Linked DNA regions of Homo sapiens: all the other regions are linked to region 3. Evidence: promoter capture Hi-C in 16 types of primary human blood cells and fetal thymus (Javierre and others, 2016). All regions are on one chromosome and are shown on one strand. Each heading gives the region's core, a stretch centred on a gene start or on the middle of the fragment in contact. The rest is flanking DNA. Distances are from core to core; before and after follow the strand shown. Region 1 has its middle 170 kb from the start of SNTB1. Region 2 has its middle 140 kb from the start of SNTB1. Region 3 holds the start of HAS2 (hyaluronan synthase 2).

What was found. Contacts are between HindIII fragments. The CHiCAGO score rates a contact against its expected background, and 5 or more counts as called.
Region 1: a fragment that was not itself captured here is called in contact with the fragment with the promoter of HAS2 in region 3 in 1 of 17 cell types (M0 macrophages); the score reaches 5.1 in M0 macrophages.
Region 2: a fragment that was not itself captured here is called in contact with the fragment with the promoter of HAS2 in region 3 in 2 of 17 cell types (M0 macrophages and M1 macrophages); the score reaches 6.6 in M0 macrophages.

The regions. Positions count from the first base shown.
Region 1 is chr8:120,978,271-120,981,621 of GRCh38, forward strand. No RefSeq gene overlaps it. Among named protein-coding and RNA genes, the nearest start is that of SNTB1, 170 kb to the left of the region's middle. The HindIII fragment of the contact is 3,881 bases long and covers 1-3,351 here.
Region 2 is chr8:120,952,553-120,955,870 of GRCh38, forward strand. No RefSeq gene overlaps it. Among named protein-coding and RNA genes, the nearest start is that of SNTB1, 140 kb to the left of the region's middle. The HindIII fragment of the contact is 3,174 bases long and covers 1-2,944 here.
Region 3 is chr8:121,639,105-121,642,840 of GRCh38, forward strand. It overlaps HAS2 (hyaluronan synthase 2), which reads right to left and starts at 2,336. Exons shown (of 4, transcript NM_005328.3): 1 at 1,749-2,336. It also overlaps HAS2-AS1. RefSeq lists enhancers at 1-292, 293-793, 2,995-3,618. The HindIII fragment of the contact is 9,649 bases long and covers 1-3,736 here.

The DNA.
Region 1 (3,351 bases), core at 385-2,884, 660 kb before region 3:
AGATGCCACACGCAACTGAATGGCTAAAAATCCAGATTGCAAGAACTACCTGCAGTAGGAAGGTTTTGAGACAGTGGGCTAAACTCAGAATCTGTCTTGAAACAGTGACTTTATGGGTTGAAGGGAAGTAAAGAACCATAGTTGACTCTGAGGTTACCAATTTGTAAAATTGGGTGGGTAATGACGGCAAATTGTGAAGAGGGTAATAAAAGGAACAGAAAGGTTTTGGGCAAAAATGATTGCATATTAAGATGTGTCACCAATAAGGTGATGCTTAAGTGGTAACTATAATTATTTAGCTATGAATTATTGAGAAGGATCAGGATGAGATCCAGAAGGAAGGAAGCAGGAATGTAGCTGCTTTCTCCTTTTAAATTTAGTATGCATTCGAAATTTAAAAGGAAACAAAATACTTGAGTGTTCTTCCAAATGGTTTAGGCAAGGTCACATAAGGAGGAACGAGGAAAGGAATTTAGAGCAGTTTTGTGCAGCGGATGAGGGTTTGAGAAACTTTAATTTAAACACTGTTAATCTGTAAGTTAATCACCTCTCTGAAATACATCCCAGGACTATTGTGAGGGTTAAGAGACATCTCAAAGGAATATATGTCGGACAACATAGGTTATGCTCCACTGTGGTTAAAAAACAAAAGCATGGCCCAGTGCAGTGGCTCACAGGTGTAATCTCAGCACTTCGGGAGGCCAAGATGGGAGGATTGCTTGAGGCCAGGAGTTCAAGACCAGCATGGGCAACAGAGCAAGACCTGGTCTCTACAAAAAATAAGAAAATTAGCTTGGCGTGGTGTCATATGCCTGTAGTCCTAGCTGCTCGGGAGGCTGAGGCTGGAGGACTGCTTGAGCCCAGGAGTTTGAGGTTACAGTGAGCTATGATCATGCCACTGCACTCCAGCCTGGGTGACAGAGATCAGACACTATCTCTAAAACATAAAATAGGACAGGTGCAGTGGCTCACACCTGTAATCCCAGCACTTTGGGAAGCCAAGGCAGATGGATCACTGAGTTCAGGAGTTTGAGACCAGCCTGACCAACATGGTGAAACCCTATCTCTACTAAAAATACAAAAATTAGCTAGGTGTGGTGGCAGGCATCTGTAATCCCAGCTACTTGGGAGGTTGAGGCAGGAAAATTACTTGAACCCAGGAAGCAGAGGTTACAGTGAGCCAAGACTGCGCCATTGCACTCCAGCCTGGGTGACAGAGTAAAACTCTACCTCAAAAATAAATAAATAAATAACATAAAATATAATTAAATTTTTTAAAAAGCAAAACATAAAACTTCCCAATGCATCAGTTTAAGACAATAGACATTTTCCATTTTAATTCACTGAATAACTTTATGAAAAAGATCCATCTTCATCATTTGATAGATGGGGAAATGGATTTGTCCAAGAGCACACAAGAGGAAGAGCTCTGAAATCTTTCAGACTCTAAAGGCTGCATGCTGTCTTTCCATTCCATGTTGGACAAATGCTTTCCATAGAGAGGGCATGCCCAGATAGAGGACTAAGCGTTCCTGGCCAGAATGGAGCTCTGAAAATGAAATGTCTGCATGACTTTCCACCTATTTCCTTACTACAAAGTTCTTCCTTGGGCAGACAGGGAAGAGAGAATATATTTCCCACATCCTCAGTTTTATTGAGGGCAGGGTAAGCTAGTGTTTAATAACGTAGTCCCTGGAGTTGACATGGTAAATTGACATATTTGGGTTTAAATCTTGACTCTAGCCACTTGTCAGCAGTGTAAACCTTGACAAGAGACTAAACATTTCTGGCCCTTCGTTTTCTTACCTCTAAAATAGGGATAATAATGGTATGTATTTCAAATGTTTATTGTGAAGATTAAATTAAATAATGCACTTAAAGCACATTGTTTTATGTTTAGTAGTCTATGCATATTTCCTATTTTATGAGTGTTTTAGGAACTCACCTCTTGCTTTTCATTTCTGTCCGTGATGGTACCCACAAACCATCACTCAGAGAATGCTCAATTGAAAAATGAAAAAAGGTAGCCTTGTGCATATGGAGAATGGGAATGCTCTGTGTGGATGGTTGCATTCCAGTCATATTTCCAAGTTTACCCTAAAGCCACAGATTTGGTTGTATGGAATTCAGAAGTTCTAATTAGAAATATGAAGAAGGATATGGACTTCCTTGTATATTTTTAAATTGATATACAAACTACATTTGGTAAAGTGAACAAACCTTAAGTTTAAAACTTAATGAACTTTACAGAGTGAACACATTTGTGTAACCCCATCCAGATAAAAATAGAGAACACTGTCAATAGTACAGAATCATCCCTGCCTCCTTCAGCCCTTCCTACCTGTGCCAAAGATAACCATATCCTGGCTTCTGTTACCCTAGGCTAGTTTTGTCTTTCTGAATTTTACATGAAAGGAATCATAGAATTTGTGTTTTTTGCTCAACATCATGTTTTTGAAATTCATTTATACCATTGCATAGAGCAGTTGTTTCTTCCTTTTATTGCAGTATTGTATCCCATTGTGTGAATATATTACCACAATGTTATTTTCCACTGTTTATGGACTTTTGGGTCAATTCTCATTTTTGGTTATTCACCATAATACTGCTTTAAGCATTCTTGAATATCTCTTTTGCACAAATCTGTACACTTATGCATTTCTTTTGGGAATGTATCAGGAGAGGAATTGCTGGGTCATTGGATACATATCTATTCAGTTTTAGTAGAAAGCATCTAATAGTTTCTGAAGTAGTTGTACCAATTTACTGGACCACCAGCAAAATAAGAGGACTCTAGTTCTCTACATACTCTCTAACACTGATCCATTCAATTGTTATTTTTAAAATTTTAGTCATTTTAATGGATATATAAATATTTCATCACTGTGGTTTTAATGAGCAGTTTTCCAATACCTCATCGCGTTGATCAACTTTTCTATGCTTATTTTTAGCTAAGTATCCTTCTTTTGTGAACTAAGTCTTTCACCTACTTGAAAAAATTGTATTGTCCTTTATTTTTGATGTAGATTTAAAAAAATTTAAATACAAGTTCTTTGTCAGATTTATTTATTATAAACGTATTCTCACAGCTTTTTCACTCCCTCAGTGATATCTTTGGATCTTAACTTTAGTAAAGTTCAGTTTATCACTATTTCCCTTTATGGTAGTTTTCCTTTGTCCTGTTTTATATGCTGGATAGTAAGAACTCATGAGACACATCTGTGGCTACTGATTGGTGATAGAAATAAAAGGGAAGGGATGAAAGTGTTTGATTAAACTGGAGAAAGGGAAGCCATATTTTTGAGGCCACCAGGGGAGAACATCACAAGGGTTAGAGGGGTCAGGACTTGG
Region 2 (3,318 bases), core at 108-2,607, 690 kb before region 3:
AAATACGGGTGTGCTGATGTGGTAGGCCACACGTTTGGTATTGTAAGGTCCATCTTTTTTTTTTTTTTTTTTCTTTTTCAGCATCCCTTCCTTTTGGGAAATGCTTCTTAACCCTCTACTTGATTACAATAGAACCAGTAGGAACTTCAATCCTGTGGCTTTGTCTTCAATTCATGAATGTGTGCGTGACTCAGACTGACCAAGTAGAGAAACTCCTCCTTGCAGGAAGGGATTGGCTTAAGGAGGGCACGGAGCTTGCATGGAGAGCCTCATACAGTGCTTTGTGTGGCTCAGGGAGCAGTGGGGGCAGAGGTCAATATTAATATTGGTATTAATATTGGCTGTTGGGACTATGAACTCTCAGTACCATGTGTAACCATTTTCTTGCTAGTATTAATTGGGTGCACAGAAAAAATGATAACATCATTTTTTTGCTACCTGCTGCCCTCTCTGATCCACTGACTCTCACTTTCCTGTCCTGTGATAATCTCTTAGGAAAATCCTATGACTACCAAGTCACTTTCAACATCAAAAATGTCTCATTTCAGGTATTGAAAAATCTAGTGTGGTCCAAGTCAAAACTTTGATCTCAGATCCTCATTAGAGTTTCTTCCCTCCACCAAGGTCAGGTCTGAGCTGTAGTTCACGATCATGTGACCATGAAGAGGTGGGCCCTCCCATCTCACTGTACTGCTTACCAGTTTTCCTTCATTTTCTTCCAGGGTATGGCCCAAGGAGAAGAGGATGAGGGGGGAGGAGAGGGAGGGTGTCACCTATTTGGTGCTGTCTCAATCTGACTTCAGTATTTTCTGTCGTGGCAGGTGTTCAAGTGTAGGTTTTAGGGAGTAGAGGGGCACTCGTGGGTTTATCAGAGACCCCCCCCCGCCAACAAGGGTGTTCACCTGGCTGTCATTCAAGTGTGTTCCTCCTCCTTGCCTTTGTTCTTTTGGTTCCAGTACCTCTCTCAGGACTTTCCAAGGGGCTAATAATTTCTGAATAGCTTTAATTAAAATAAAATTTATACTTCTGGGTTAAAGATTCTCCTCACCATTTTCAAATTTCTACCCCACTTAATGCTATTTGACAGAATTTAAAATCACTCTTCTGTTGAAATATGTAGAAGAGGTAGGTTTTAGGGAATGCTGTAATTTTTTTGAGTTGCCGTATGTGACACAACTGATTAGATCATGATGTTATTTTATAGCTGATGGTACAAAACATGAATTCTGTTATTTTTTTCGTGTGTGTGTGTGTGTGTGTGTGTGTGTGTGTGTGTTGTCCTATCAGTTCAGACTCAGAGAACCTTGACATCAAAGTAGGTGGTTTTTATCCCATGTACAGCCATTATAATCCTTTTATAGCATGATTTAATTGCATGGAATACTTTAAATGGTGGGTGAAATCACTGTTATGATTTTCATTATTATACAGAAAGTCTGTCAAGGAGTAGTTCTCCTATAGCAGATGATGTGCGTCCTGTTTCTAGTGCTGGAGTCATAAAAGACCCTCTAGTCCAACTGTTCACCTTATGTTCAAATTTCATTTCTGGGCTTAAATATTATTTTTCTTAAAGTGGACCCACATTAAAATAACAAAACGGGTTAAGCAGGATAATCCAATAACCAGGTTGTTACCTGAAATTAAAAGTCTGGCAATTTTTTCCACTAAGATAACTGATTATTGGGCAGGCTATTTTTGAGTCACTGTGACTCAGCCTGACTGACTCTTTTTACTCCTGGACTCTGTTGACTGCCCTCCTAATGGATGCCAGTGACTTGCCTTTGGCATGTCACCTGCGCCAGCATGAGCTGCCATTCAAATGGTTCTGTGCTCTGACAAGCTGCACTCCGTGAATTGCCAGCTGGATAATTCACAAGGTGCTGCCGTGTGCGAGCCAATACCAGCACCTGGAGGCCTTTATAGATGCTGCCACTAAATGCATGAAGAAATCTCAAGTAAAAGTTTCACTTTTTTTATTTTAATGCATGTATATAAACCTGCAACATTAACTACCTCTTTGGTTTGAAACTGCAGATGTAACCAATATTTCTTTGCCTAAATTATGCCCTATATGCTTTGGGGGAAGGGAGACCCAGTCATTAAAGATAAAACATCAAGTCATATAAAATGTCATGTAACAGTAAACTGCAGGCTTCACTGCAATTGCTTGGAACATGGGATGTTATGCCTTCCTAATTGTGTTAAACCCAGAGGCTTGGCGTGAGTGTATCAGGAATCAGGGGTGCAATATCCATGATTATAACTTGAAGATGGGACAAATCCTGACTTGGAAACTATTCAGCAATCTGGTTGGTTCCATTCAGTTCAAAGCAGTTCAACTCAGTTCAGTTCAATTCACCTTATTCATTTTCATAAATGTTTCGGACACACCGTATGTACTGGGCACTGAGAGGATATGGGGCAAAAAAAGTTGAAACCTGCCTCTGCTAATGCAGTGCTGGTGCTCTGATTCTACTCCTCTCCATTCGTCTCCACCCTGCTCTGCACACTGGAAGCCTGGTTTATGTGGACCCATCACTGTGTTCTTTTGCTGTTGAATTTGGTTTGGTTCAGGCCATGGATGCCACCAATAGGAGATGCCAGTGGGTAAGAGAGAGAACTTGGAGTATTTATTCCCCAACTCCCTCCTGAGCTGCAGGCTTATGTCTGGTTTGCATCTGGCCAGTTATCCTTCTCCATCCAGTTCTGTCTCTGGGTAGATCCTGACTACCCACGGCTCCCTTCTCTTCCCCTTTACACCCAAGGTGTGGTGAGTGCTCCCTGGTGTCCCTGTCCCCAGGATGCTGCCCCGGCCTTGTTGCCTTCCATAAGCTCTGCTCACTCTTTTGAAAATACTCTTTTTTTAGTGTAATTCTTTCAGATTATTCAGTTTGCCTGTACCCATCAGTGCCTTGCAGAGGAGCCCAAGAGATACCCAGAAGTAAGCTTCCATCTGAATTAATTCATTTATAGTTAAGTGCTTATTATGGGTCAAGTGACTATGTGCTAGGTCCTGGGGGTATAAACCTCTAACTATGAAAGATACAATCCAGCTTTCAGTGAAAGCATTGCCTATTAGAGTGCACGGAAATTAATGATTGCAAAATAGCAGTGAGTGCAGGGCAGCTGATGTTACGGGACATGACAGCTTGCCTTGTGTTCGGATGGGGGCCCTGTAAGTGTAGCTTGAATCGAAATAGAAAGCAGGATGGGGGCATGAATTAGGTAAGGATATGACCATGCTGGGGTGGTGGGGAGTGCGGTGGGAAGAAGGAAGCACCTCCGTGGAGACCTTAGGGTAAGCAGGAGTGAGGCCCT
Region 3 (3,736 bases), core at 1,086-3,585:
GTGAAGTTGTCTCCCTCTTAACAAGCGGCCTCACTCCTTCAGCAAAGCCCATCTACCAACTTCCTTCTCTTTATTCTAACACTGAGCTGATGGTCTATATATACTCAGGCCTCCAGTTGGGGGAAGCCCTTGGTGGCCAATCGGGGCTTCCCTATCTATTGCGTCACACCTCCCCCGTGTGTGACGTCAAAGGCAATCCCAGCCCAGACACGTGGGTTGGAGCAGCGTCGCGTTTCTGGGCAATTGCTCCTGAGACCCAACAGGCAGCAACGGTCCCAAGGGTGAGGGAGTGGGCAGGGAGAGGCTGATGGGGCTTCTACACGTTCCCTCCCGTAGCTGGGCTGCTGCAGCTCGTTCGCCCCAGAGGCGCGCGGTGTCCTTGAGTCCAAGTATTCAGCGCGGACGTTTGGGGGACGGAGGGAGAGGCGCTAGGGGAACTGGCACCTAAGACTGTGTAATAGGACACAGGTCTTGCAAGTCCTCCTCCCCAGGCACCGCCCCTGTGCTCCCAGCGCCTCTTTGCAGCTTTAATTATCCTTTCAGCGCCGTTCCCCCGCGGCTGCGTTTCCGTGGTCAGAGGAAAAAGGCTCTTTCGCCTCCCGGTTCTCACCCTCATACAGACCCTCCTTTCAGACCCGCCCTCCTGTTCACAGGGACCCATTTCGGAGCCCTGGCTCACGCTGGGCGGGAACTGCCGTGACGAATTCCCCCCAAGGTGTTGATTATCCATCCCAACCCAGCCTCTGGCTTCCCTCCCACCTCCACCCCAGCTCCCACAGGCCCCTCGCCCCGTTCATCGGCTGGGCGCTCGAGACGGCGCCCCCAGATCTCCCACCGGGCAGTGTCCCCAGCTGCAGCTGAGGAGAGAAGCGCCGGCGTGCGCGGTGCCACGTCGGAATTGGCTCTGGGGACGCCGCAGCTGCCGAAGCGCAGCGCGCGGTCCCCACGCACGCCCTGCCTCCGGGCGGCCGGCGGGCTGGCCCGGCGAGGAGAGGAGGGATGCGCGCCCTCCTCCCGCTCCTATCTGCGGGTGCCACCGCCTGCGTCAGGGACCCCTGGCCCGAGTAAGCCCAGACTGACGAGCCTGACACTTTAATGGGGTGCGGGAAGTGCAAAGGAGGGGAGGCCCGGGAAAGGGGGGAGTGGCCGAGAGGGGATGGTAGCTGCGAGGAGGTAGAGAAGGACCCTCCTTCTCCAGGGTCCCAGCTTGTCGGAGCTGGAAGCCCAGATTGCTTAACCCTTTGCATTCCCAGCAAGAAGCGACTTTTTCACTTAGAAGTAAAACGCGCTGGGCTATTCCAGTTTTTCTCCCCACAGTGTGTGTGTGTGTGTGTGTGTGTGGGAAAAAAAGAAGGGAAGGGGTGGGGCGGCTGTGCAGAATGCATTTTCCTTACATTGGGAATTCTTGTTTCCTAACTCTGGAGCCCCTCTGCTGCTCCGGAAGATGCAAAATGGAAAAGTACATCTGAGGACGTGCAGCCTTTCCCAGGCAGAGAGGCTACCTGTGTCCCCAGAAAGGCAGCGGATTTCTGGCGAGAGCCGCAGAAATGGGAAAAGAGGGCTATGTTGCTAAGCCTGACAGTGACCTGAAATATTCCCTGATCTTCAGTCTGTTGGAAATTTTTAAACTTCCAACTTTTCTATCGAAACTGGCTTAAAAATTTTAAAACAATTATAAGGATGTCTTCCTTCTCCCTGGCCTGTTGGAGGACCTTCATCCTTCACCAAAACGCGCCAGTGTAACGTACCTTGTTCAGCTCTTGGTCATAAAGTCGTCCTCAGCCTGTCTGTGTGGTCCCGGAGGGTCGGTGGCGGGCAGTTTCCAAAATTGAGGTAATAAGAGATCAGATGAATTTGAGACGACCGGCCAAAAAAAATAAGAAATTTAAAAACAACATTTAAAAAGGATAGGGGAGTCTTAAATGTTTGATTCTTCCCCACTTTAAAAAATAATTTCACTAATATTCTCTTTATGTTTCCGTTGCACTTCAGTCTAATTCTTAAAAAAATTATGCTTTAAAAATAAATTAACTTTTCTTTTTTCTTTTCTTTTCTTTTTTTTTTTTTTTTTTTTTTGGGCTTCAGTCTTTCTGCCCCCGATAACAGAAAATCTCTTTTTCGTCTTAAAAAAAAAAAAAAAAAAAAAAAAAGCCTGTGGAAGACTCAGCAGAACCCAGGAAGCGCAGAATTGGGAGAAAAGTCTTTGGCTGGGGCTGTTTCAAGTCTCTGGTTCAATGGGCTGCTCGAAGCCAGGACTGGGTAATTCTTTCCAGACGTCTTGACTTCTCCTTCCCCGCCGTTGTTGCCCTTCTGCCTCCTCCAACTTAAGGGGGTCTTAACAAGTGAGCTGGTGGGTGTTTTAATAGGGCGGCGGAGGGAGTGGGGGGGTGAGGGAAGTGGAGAGGGAGGTGTGGACTGGGGAACCCTGAGGGGAGGGAACTGGGAGCGCGGGCGGGCGGGCGAGCGGGAGGCGGGGAGGGGGAGAGGGAGAGAGAGAAATTGGCCATTCAAAGCCTTCTCTGAGCTACAGGCCGGTTCTAAACTCCAATGAATTCAATTAACTTGATTGCTAACGTGTGCAGAGAAATGCAAGACACATAGGGGGCCACCACCTGATTCCTTACTTTCCTCTGGCGGCGGAGGTGGGAGCCCTCGCCTCTTGGATTTCCCTGAACTCCCGCGTTACAAGTTCCCTCCAAGCGATAAACTCCCTGTGGCGCTGAAGTAATTTGTTTTAAAGCCAAATGGTGCCCTTCAGCTAAGTAACCGACCCAAGGAGGAACAGTTGGGAGGGGTGTGTGCACGTGTGTGTGTGTGTGTGTAAGTGTGTGCGTGTGTGTGTGTACCTGGAGCCTTCGACAGCCGGCTGGGACTCTAAAAAGATCGCGCTGGTCCACCACTTGTTAACCCTTTCTTCCCGCCAACTCAAAAGTTTCTGAGCTGACGTCAAGTGTCAAAGCCTTTCTCATAAAGAGGTTTCTGCCGTGGGTGGGCGGAAAACATAGAAAAGTAATTATATGTATATTTTTGCTCAATCTGGTCCCCTAACGTAAACATACTCAAACAGCGCGCATTAAAAATAAAATAATAAAAATTGTTTTCTGGAGGACTTATATTTAGCCATCTTGAAGGAAATGGCTTAACTGGCTTTTGCTTTTTGCAAGCCTTCTGCAAAGTTGACGAGGACAAATATGTCTTGCTTGGAGATGGCCTTTCCTCGTCGTTTTCACAATGCCCCAAGGCTGGGTAGAGTTCGTTTTTTGGTTACTCCTCCCCCCACCACTCCGCCTCCTTTCTTTCTCTTGGACCTTGCCAACAAGCCTGCTGATGACTGAAAATGGACAGTAGGTGGCACTGTTGAGGAAAAAATGAGAGTGACTTTACAAATTAACCAACTTGGTCTTGGGAGATTGCGCTGAAATTGTTATAGGGTAAAACAGATTTTTCTTTCTTTCTTTTTTCCTTCTTCCCCTTCCAAGGATCTTCTGAGGGGTGGACTTCTTTGGAACTCGACAGGACCTTGAAGACTGGGTTCTTAGTCCTTATCACATATATGGGCTATAATGAATAAGTCTAAACAGAAAAGTCGAATAAACTGGAAATGATGCTTTCATCACGTCGCACAAGGTGTAGTGTTGGGGGATGTGATTAGGGGTCAAGCATTTTAGTGCAATACCAGGTAGTCAGCCATCCCAGTCCCCAGGGGCTGACCTGCAAAGTACTGCGCGTTTCCGCC